3 separate regions of the Homo sapiens genome follow, and all the other regions are linked to region 1. Evidence: promoter capture Hi-C in 16 types of primary human blood cells and fetal thymus (Javierre and others, 2016). All regions are on one chromosome and are shown on one strand. The core of a region is centred on a gene start or on the middle of the fragment in contact, and the rest is flanking DNA. Distances in the headings are between cores, read along the strand shown.

Region 1 (3,515 bases), core at 189-2,688:
TGGAGAGAAGGCTAGTGGAAGGTAACTTTAGAGAAGTAATACAGGCCTGATTCTGAAGGGCGTCCTCGGCCTTGGACCTAGAGGAATGGAAGCCATTAGACAACGCTGAAAAGACCTGACTTTGGTACACAGAAGTAAAGCAATCCTATTAAAATTACATATGTAATATTTATATAAAATTATATATGTAATATTACTTATATATGTAATATCTAAAATTTAAGCTAGTAAAAGGAATGGATTATCTGCCGGGTAACTGGAAACCTGCTTATGAGAGAGGTTAGAACTAAGGGACTAGAGATTCACAGACATGGGAATGAGTCTGGGAGAAGAATTCACAAAGAAAAAGAGTTTAAATCCTAGGGATCAGTGAATCATAGGGATCAGTCCAATGTGGAATTCTTCAGCCAGGGAAGGAAATGGAGAAACAGGCATCAAGGATGTAAGAATTCAATTTGAAATGATTGATTGCATCGCCCTCCCCATCAGGCAGAGCATGAAGAACATGAATGATCCCACTGAAGCAGGGCGGGCAGCTGGGATTCTCTCACAGTGGGAATGAACATTAGAAATGGTGTAAGTTCAAACAGCCCCAATCCTATGCTGTGGATAACTGGATATCCCTAGGGAAACAGACCACAGAAAATAATAATCATGGGGAAGTACATCCTAAGACACAACACCTAACACCAGCCCAGGACAAAGGCACCATAAAAATTCCATGAGCGAGGGTCTGTTTACTTTCTCAGAGTAAATGTTAGTAACATGAACTATACATTTATAATGTTTTAAGGTTTAGAAGCCACTTTACGTCTGACTATATCTGATTAAAGATCGTAGTCGTTGGACTGGGCAGATGCAAACTAGAAAATCACCATTAAGGTGAAATGTGTCCATGTCTGTCTGTCACTCGCTGTCTGTATCATTTCCGGGGCCATGAAGATGTGGCTTTAACCAGAAGTATTTGAGATATGCCTCTTTCTTAGGAAAGCTATGGCCTTTCTAACTGCCTGAGAGGGCTATGAAGAAGAGGAGGGGTGGCAGATTCACCCATGGGAGCTGAACACCCAAAGCAAGAAAATCAGGGGCTCTGGGAAAGGAAGTGAGTCAAGACAAGCAAGAGAGAAGGATGAGAGCGAGCACCTCCAGGATCTGGTTTACCAGAGAAGACAAGCTGCGAGGAGGCCACTAAACTTCTGCCCTGGCACAGTTTGCTGCAGGGAGGCAGCCCCAGAACTAGTGGTGAGGTCGAGGGGCTAGGCCAGGGGAGGGACGGACAGGCAGAGGTCCCTTACTCTTTCGATTTATCCGATCCGTGCGCCGAGTTGATACGATGCACCTCTTTCTTTTTGGTTTGTTTGGAGGCCATGGCAGAAGCCGATCTATGTAGGGCTGAGCTCTGAGCAAAGAGCCTGCGGGCGCGCTCGGCTCCGCGTCTGCGTTGCCAGGAGACGGCGTCCCGCGTCCAGCGCCCGGAGAGCGGGGGCGGGGCCCTGGGGGCGGGCTCTGCGGCCTGTGGCTGCAGAGGGACGCAAGAGCATAAACTGAAATCCCACATCCCCGTGGAGGAACTTGGAGTTGGTGTCTGGGGAGAAATCGAGGTTCTGGGGCACGGGTTTGGCATTAGGATTACTGGGCAGCCCTGATTAATTGGAGTTCTGCAGGACCTACACTGCCTGGCTTTGCCCTTCGGAACCATAGACATATATCGACTCTTGAATATCCAACTATTTGAACGTAGATGTTATCCTAGTACCACCCCAGTTATTCTCTTGGCTAAATATAACAAGTACCTTCAATAATTACTAAGGAGACATTACAGACACGCTGAAATTGTCAATGGCTTGAAAACCTGGGGTCCAGAAATTAACACAGTGGGTGTAAGGAAGGCAAAATAATGACACCTTGAGTCGCTGAGGGCTAGGTGATGATATCTGTAATAAAACCAATAAGGTGTCTTGTTGTTCGAATGAAAGAGTGAGTCCAAGTCATGGGCTCAGGTGGTCCTTTGCAGACTTTCCAGAAAAGGTCCAGGGGCCAGATGACACAGACAGAACCAAGTAAAATGAAACTTATTAGGGCGCAGGCTTAAGGCTCAGTCATCAGTGGTGATTTGTTAGTTATCTTGCCTTGGGCTAGTTTTTCCCTTTGAGTCTCAGTTTACTCACTTATAAATAGGAGATGCCTATTACTCACTTATAAATAGGAGTTATACCTAACTCACAGTTCTGTTTTGAGGATAAGATGCAAAGCGCAGCAAATAGGAGCCACTCTTTCAGAGATGACAGACCACCTGGTTTCGAGGAGCAGCAGACAGCGTGAATGAATGAAGTTGGCCAGGTAAATACAGAGTAGTGGATACTATGCTTAACTGAGACATGCTTAGACTGCAAGAGCTTGCAAATTTATCAAAACAAAACAAAATATTGTGTTGGTTCAATATAACCTCACTTCAGAGATATCTGACACACAGCCCTTAGGCCTAGGACCACTACTACTGGTTGGTGTCTTTCATGAGCCTAGAAATAGTTAAGTATCTTTAAATAAAAGAAATCCCCTCCACTCATGGGACTGGGCACATGCTCACAGTTCCACCTGTGCAGGCAAGAGGCAGCTTCCTGCAGAGAAAATCTTTCAACTTCTCTGACAAATGAATGCTCAGGGCTCTCCACTCAGCATAGCCTATGGTTTGTCAGACTATCCCAATCTTATTACTATTGGATTACTACTGGGGGTTACCTAGATGACAGACAGCCCCTTCGTTGTATTTCTATATGCAAAATAAATAAATTCCAAGTCAGCAGTGTTAATATTATGACTACAAGACTGCCCTGCAAACATCTCCTATATATGTAAAGACAATGAACACATCATGAAGATTCTGCTTTGTTTATACCATAATTCAAATTTCCAGAGAACTCTCTTGAATGAAAGTAGAGGACTAAATGGTGAGAAAAATTATTTACTACCAAATTTTGTCAGAGTAATCAAATTTATAGCTATAAGTATATACAAAGACTCTTGGCTGAAAACAGCACAACTTTAAGCAGCCAACCCCACAGAGAGGTGAGTTTCTTCTTGAACAAGGGCTATCCTGCAGCCATTGTTAATGGCTGCAAGATGCCAAAAGAATTAGGGAAGATAAGCCTTAGAAATCAAAAGATCTACATCCCACCGGTATTTTATGGACAAATAACTCCAGGCGAAGACAAGCAAAATGTCTTGCCAAAAGTTGCTGGGTTATTTATTGATGGAATTTGGACTAAACACATTAAAGTCAGCATTGCCAGTTTAAGCCAAACATATCACTACTCCACTCAGAGCTTGCTTTTTAAACATCTATTAAATTAGGATAAAGTAAGGGGGTTGTCACCAGAATGGAATAAGATAATCATAAAAGATGTGACGAGTATAAGTTGCCTATTAATTCCTACGCCAGTGTTCTTTCTCCTTTATTATATTAAGAGTGCAACATGCATAAATGGAATTTCTCTTCTTTCTGGAGCTAAGGTTCT
Region 2 (3,515 bases), core at 333-2,832, 110 kb before region 1:
CCAGAGATGCAAGGATGGTTTGACATATGCAAATCTACAAGTATGATATACCACATTAAAAGAATAAAAGATAAAAACCATGCAATCATGTGAATAGATGGAAAAACAGCATTTCACAAAATTCAACATCCTTTTATGATTAAAAAACCTCTCAACTTACAACTAATATAAAGAATGTACTTCAACACAACAAAGGCCATATATGACAAACTCATAGCTAACATACTCAACAGTGAAAAGTTGAAAGCTTTACTTCTAAGATCAGGAGTAAGACAAGGAAAATAACCACTTCTATTCAACATATCACCTAAAGTCCTAGCTAGAGCAATTAGGCAAAATAAAGAAAAGGCACTCAAATTGGAAAGAAAGAAGCTAAATTTTTCCTCTTTTCAGATAATACAATCATATATAGAACCCCTTAAAACCCCATTAAAAATCCTGTTAGATCTAATATATAAACTCAATAAAGTTTCAGGATACAAAATCAACATACAAAAAACAAAAATAGAAATCAGTAAAATAATTCCATTTACAATAGCTACCAAAACATATTTAGGAATAAATTGAACTAAGGAGGTACCTATATTCTGAATACTATAAAATAAAACATTGATGAAATAAAATAAGACTCAAATAAATGGAAAGATGTCCCATGTTCATGAACTGAAAGAATTCATATTGTTAAAATGGCTGTACTAGCCAAAGCAATGTACAGATTCAATGTAATCTATCAACATTCTGATGAGATTTTTCACATACTAGCCAAAGCAATGTACAGATTCAATGTAATCTACCAACATTCTGATGAGATTTTAGACAGATATATTAAAAACATCCTAAAATCCATGTGAAACCACAAAAGACCCTAAATAGCTAAAGCAAAAGAACAAAGCAGGAGGCATCACACTACCTGACTTCAAAATACACTACAAAGCTATAGTAACCCAAACAGCATATATCACCATAAAAATAGACCAATGGAACAGAGTAGAGAGTCAAAAATAAATTCAAACTATTATGGTCGAAAAAGATTGACAAGAACACACAATGGAAGAAAGGAGAGTCTCTTCAGTAAATGATTTTGGGATATCCATTTACAAAAGAGGAATGTCACCTCATACCATATACAAAAATTAACTCAAAATGCATTAAGAACTTAACTTTAAGACCTGAATGTATGCTGAATGTATGAAACTATTAGAAGAAAACATAAGGGATAAGCTCCAAGAACTTGGCCTGGGCAACAAGTTTTAAGAAATAATCCCTAAAGCACAGGCAACAATTGCAAACAGACAGAAGGAATTACATCAAACTAAATTTTTTTTTTTTTGCACAGAAAAGGAAGCAATTATAAGGAGACAATCTATAGAATGGGAGAAAATATTTGTAAATCATACATCTGATAAGAGGTTAATATTCAAAACATATAAGGAACTCAAACAACTCATCATCAAGGAAACAACCCAATTGAAAAATGAGCGAAGAATCTGAATAGGCATTTCTCAGGAGAAGACATACAAATGGCCAACGTATGTGTTTTAAAAAATGCTCAACATCACTAATCATCAGAGGAACATAAATTAAGACCACAGTGAGATATCACTTCACACCTGTTAAAATGGCTGTTATCGAGAATACAAAAATAAGTGTTAGTAAGAATGTGGAAATAAGGGAAACCTTGTATATTGCTGGTGAGAAGGTAGAATGGTGCAGCCACTGTAGAAAACAGTATGGAGGTTGAAAAAAAAAAACTAAAAATAGGGCAATCATGTGATCCAGCAATCCTCCTTCTGAGTGTGTATCCAAAGGAAATGAAATCAGTGTGTCAAAGAAGAAAGAGATACCTGCCTTCCCATCTTCATTATAGCATTATTCACAAAGCCAAAATATGAAATCAAACTAATTGTCCATCCACAGATGAATGGATAAGGAAAATATGGTATATATACAAAATAGAATACTATTCAGCCTTTAAAAAGAAGGAAACTTTATCATTTGCAATAACTAGGATAAACCTGGAGGACCTTATGTGAAGTTAAATAAGCCACACACAGAAAAATAGATACTAAGTAGAATGGTAGTTACCAGGGGCTAGATGTGGGTGATTGGGAAAATACTGGTCAAAGGATACAAAGTTTCAGTTAGTAGAGATAAATTCAAGAGATCTGATTTGCAACACGGGGTCTATAGTTAATGTATTCTTGAAAATTGATAAGACAGAAGATTTTAGTGTTCTCACAACAAAAAATGAAAGGAACGTGAAGTAATACATATATTAATCAGCTCAATTTAGTTATTCAGCTATATATATATTTCAAAACATCATGTTTTACACTATAAATGCATATATTTTTTATCGATTAAAAATAAATTTTAAAAAGACAAGATTGAAAAGATAAACTTAGAACATATGAAATACATATCTAATAAAGAATAAGTCTCCATATTTCACAAAGAACATCTATGAATTGGTAAAATAGGAACATACAACCCAAATGGAAATTAGGCAAAAGACATAAGCAGGCATTGCACAGCAGCACAAACAGAAATGGCAGTAAATGTATACAAAGCTGTTCAGTCACAATAACAACCAGTTCAATGGAAAAGCAAAATGAACTACTTTTTCTTACCAATCTGATTGGCAAAATTTTTAAAAAATCCCTACACACTCCATGTGGCTATAAGGAAATATTCATACAACCTGGGTGTAATCTTATCGTGTATATTTAGCAATAATTATTTTAAAATTCCAATAGAATTGTATTTGTTGGCCAAACAATCCAACTACATGTACAAATTCATTCATAGCAGTAGTATTTATAATAGCAAAAGATTAAAATCAACCCAAGATTTCATCTATAGAGATTGATAGAAATAAACTACAGTTCATTTACATAATAAAAAATTATGAAGCTTTAAGAATGAAGATACTCTTTAGGTGTAGATTGGAATTATCTCCAGCATATATTAAGTATTTTTAAGATTATTTAATTTTGAGTAGAAAAAAAGGAAGTTGTGAAATATTGTGTGTGTGTTTCTTTGCATTTACATTAAAAAATCCTGAAAGTTTCCTACGGAGGGCAGAATGGTGAAAATGGGATAGAGAGGTACATAAATGGAGGCAAGATTTCTTTACATTTGTTTTACATTGGAAAGCTCAGCATCCTACTGTTCAAGGTCATTGCCAAGGTCTGATTTTTCAAATTCCAAAAATAGCAACCTCAGGCATATATGGGTTAATATGTCAATACATTATGCATTTATAATAAAAAATAAAATACCATTTTATACCCACCACATTAGCAAACATCATACAGTATCAAATGCTGTCATAAAGAAAACTCTTGGTGTTGACAGGTGTGGGTATTACTACACCCATTCAGAAAATGGTTTGGCATTTTATTGTAAGGTCAAGGAGGTGAATGAATGCCCTATTAACTAGACTCCTAGATTCATATCCTAGAACAGGGTTTCCTAATATGATATCCAATGAAGCTCATAGTTAAATTTCACAA
Region 3 (3,515 bases), core at 302-2,801, 84 kb before region 1:
TGTATTGTGTGATAACTTGTATGAAATAATATGTTTTTAAACATAACTAATCATCTTAAGTTTAAGGATGCAGCAAAATAATTATTCCTTTTAAAAAGAATGAATGTTTATGAAAATACTTTTCATGCACTCCTATCATCAGATAAGACCATTTGAGATACCCACATTGACCAGAATGGCCCTCAGCAGTGACCAGTAATTTACAGTCCAGTTACTTTTCTCACTGATCAATCTAATTGAAGCCCTCCAATAAGTCCTCTAATCAAAAGAAAGATTGTGAAATGCCTTTAGGTGTCAGCTGAGAGTTGAAGGCCAGTTATGGAGAGGAAGTTCCTGACAGTGATGACTGCTAAATATTAAAATGGATAAAATTTTAAAAATCAGTTTTTTTAATCTATCTTCAGAACTTTCTGCTCAAGGAAGAAGATAAGATTAAATGTACTTTCCAGGTTCAAGATTAAGCAGTTGGCTGTCTACACCTTAGGAAAGTATGAAGCATGAGAGGTGGAGGGAAGAAGAGTGAGGGTTCCTCTCTGAGCCTGGCTACTGAGCAAGATTGGGCTTCTTTACAAAAAGTCAGCTGAGTTTCCAGATGTTAAACACACACCTTACATAATGTTTGACCAAATGTCTGGGCACCCCATGGCTCGTTCAGGTTGATCTATTTCATTAGCTCTTTTCTAAATCTTGTTTTAAAAATCATAACGTGTAAAAGTATTTTGGTCCACATTATATCCCACATTTGTACATTATGCATTAGAAATTTTGATGTCTTCCCTAAAATTTTCTAAAGCTTAATATTTAATATTATCACATTAAGTACTTTGTCCTTGATCTTTAATAAGTCTTTTGAACTTTTATTTTCCTTATGATATTAAAAATAAAGTTTGTGATACAAGTATTTTGAAAAAAGTTCTCACTTACTTTATAACATTATGTAATAAAATATATGGAAACCTGGGAATTCCAGGTGAGGTCTTAGAAAACAATAACTTTAGAAACTTGGAGTAAAGAATGTGGTCTTGACATATTATAGAAATGATGTTGATGACAAAAAAATTTGCTCCAAATTTTAGGATAATCACACATTTTACATGGGATTGTAATATGTAATGTTGAAATATTAAAAAATAACACAAGTGTTTAGTTAAGGGTGAAGTTTTAAATATTTAATAAGTGGTATAGCATGGGCACAGATTAATTAAACTAGAAGCTGATTATAAATATTGGTATCACTATACTGGTGCTATTAACTAAATATCAATCTGTAAAAGCTGGATAGGAATGTGCTATTAAATAGGGATTTTCAAACTAAGTTTTATACATCTTATAAATGAGATTCAGGGGCCCAGAACTCAGTGAACTATTATGTAACACTGCAGATCTGTGTGCACACTAACTGCTTTAGTCTGTTTTGTACTGCTAAAATGAAATACCTGAGACTGGGTAACTTTTAAAGAACAGAAGTTTATTTCCCCACAGTTCTGGAAGCTGGGAAGTCCAAGATCAAGGTGCTGGCGCCTGGTGAGGAACTTTTTGCTGTGTCATCCCCTGGCCAAATAAGCATGTCATCCCATAGCCAAACTCACCCTTTTATAACAAACCCACACCTGGGATACCTAACCACTCCCATGATAATGGCATTAATCCATTCCCTCTGTCCTCATGGCCTAATTACCTCTCATTAGGCCCCACCTCCCAATATGGTTGCATTGGGGATCAAAATTCTAGCACATGGACTCCAGAAGACACATTCAACCAAGACTACAAAGGATTTGGAAAAAAAAGAGAGAAGGTTCAAAATTTTCATAAGATTTTCAAAAAAGTTTATTAGCCAAGAAAATATAAGAATTATTTGTAAAGGGTCTAAAGGGCCTTAGATAATTCCTATTTGTTCTATTATCTCTCTGTAAATATGTTGTGTGATTCTGCAATATTGGAACACCCATAATGCATTTTGATTTTATTATATATCAATAAAACTGCTTTTAGAATATCTTAAAGGCAAATGTTTAAATCTAGGGGCTCTATAATTTCTTTCAGTGAACTATGAATGGTACAGACCATGAAATTTCCTTATCTTTCCAGTTGTTGGAGTAACTTTGTATTGAATTAGCACAGCTGCATATAATAATGCTTAATAATTGAGAAAGAAATTTAAGAAAAAATATACTCTTGAATGATGAAATGAAATTTAACATCCTAGTCTCTAAAACTGCCTTAAAATATTTTGTACAGTAATTATGAGTCTTATATGGCCTACAACTGCCATACTAATTATATGTATTTTATTGCTCAAAAGAAGCTTTTGCTACATTTGTATGATTTAAATGTTTTATTTTACATGTGATACAGCTTTTTTTGCTTTCTATAAGCATATTTCAGAAGACTGCTATAAAATACGTAAGATTACTTAAATACCACTTTTATCATTGATTTCATTTTATGTTAGACATTTACTGTCTGAACCTATAAAAATTTCAGCCTGAAATTTTGAGTCCCAGTGAGATGAACCCCAAATTACTATAAATCCATAAGAAGTATTTGTTAAAGATTATATATGATTTTTTTCAGATGTGATATTTAGTTAATTTAGAATAGCTAACTTTCAGTGAATGCCTACTCTGTGCTAAGGCCTAGGTATTTCATATGAGTCAGTTCACATAAACCCTATGAAATAAATTCTATTTTTAACAGTATTTTTCAGGCAAGTAAACTGAGTTACGGATAGGTTAAGTAACATGTCCACTACACAATTAAGAAGTGTGAAGTGTAAAGTAGTCCCTGGTCTTTCTGGCAATTTTTTATTGTCTATGATTCTATGTGGCAATATCTAAAGAGGATAATGACTCGAATGTGTTCCGGCCCACTTCCTACCAGACAATGTTTGCAGGTCCAATATTTGATGCAAAGCTGAAAAGTAAAAGACTTTTTATACCAAGTCCATAATTTCTTAATACAAGTTTTAAAATAATATATATTAGTGGGCTTCTAATCTATTTCTTTCATCAGTTCCACATGTCCATATTCTTTCTTGAGTGTAATTCCCAAGGCTAATTTACTTCTTTGCTTCTTTGCTTCATAGAGGCCACTTTGAAGATAGCTGCAACAAAGAGGTTGCAGTCTTAATCTTTGACACAACCAGGTGTGTTGTTTAAGTTTTACTGGACTGTATTAGGCCATACTTGCATGGCTATAAAGAGATACCTGAGACTGGATAATTTATAAAGAAAAGAGGTTTAATTGGCTCATGGTTCTGCAGGGTGTACAGGAAGCCTAGATCTGGTATCTGTTTCTGGGGAGGCCTCAGGGGGCTTTTACTCATGGCAGAAGGCAAAAGAGGGAGCAGATGTCTCACATGGTGAGAATGGGAGCAAGCAAGAGAGTAGGGAGAGATGTTACACAGTTTTAAACGACCAGATCTTGCAAGAACTTACTGTCATGAAGACAGCACCAAGCCATGAGGGATCTGCCTTCAGGTCCACTCCCACCAGGCTCCACCTCCAGCACTGGGG

Evidence for each region. The method cuts DNA at HindIII sites, captures the fragments that hold promoters and counts their contacts. A CHiCAGO score of 5 or more calls a contact.
Region 2: a contact is called between a fragment that was not itself captured here and the fragment with the promoter of ADGB in region 1, in 1 of 17 cell types (monocytes). The highest score is 5.3, in monocytes.
Region 3: a fragment that was not itself captured here is called in contact with the fragment with the promoter of ADGB in region 1 in 1 of 17 cell types (monocytes); the score reaches 5.9 in monocytes.

Annotation. Positions count from the first base shown.
Region 1 is chr6:146,596,895-146,600,409 of GRCh38, reverse strand. It overlaps ADGB (androglobin), which reads right to left and starts at 1,438. Exons shown (of 36, transcript NM_024694.4): 1 at 1,296-1,438. The coding sequence starts at 1,369. ADGB-DT (ADGB divergent transcript) reads left to right here and starts at 1,479. Exons shown (of 3, transcript NR_125860.1): 1 at 1,479-1,577; 2 at 2,239-2,340. RefSeq lists a silencer at 1,343-1,637. The HindIII fragment of the contact is 3,644 bases long and covers 1-3,515 here.
Region 2 is chr6:146,702,104-146,705,618 of GRCh38, reverse strand. All of the region lies in intron 13 of ADGB (androglobin), which reads right to left. Among named protein-coding and RNA genes, the nearest start is that of ADGB, 100 kb to the right of the region's middle. The HindIII fragment of the contact is 2,666 bases long and covers 250-2,915 here.
Region 3 is chr6:146,681,149-146,684,663 of GRCh38, reverse strand. All of the region lies in intron 9 of ADGB (androglobin), which reads right to left. Among named protein-coding and RNA genes, the nearest start is that of ADGB, 84 kb to the right of the region's middle. The HindIII fragment of the contact is 1,512 bases long and covers 796-2,307 here.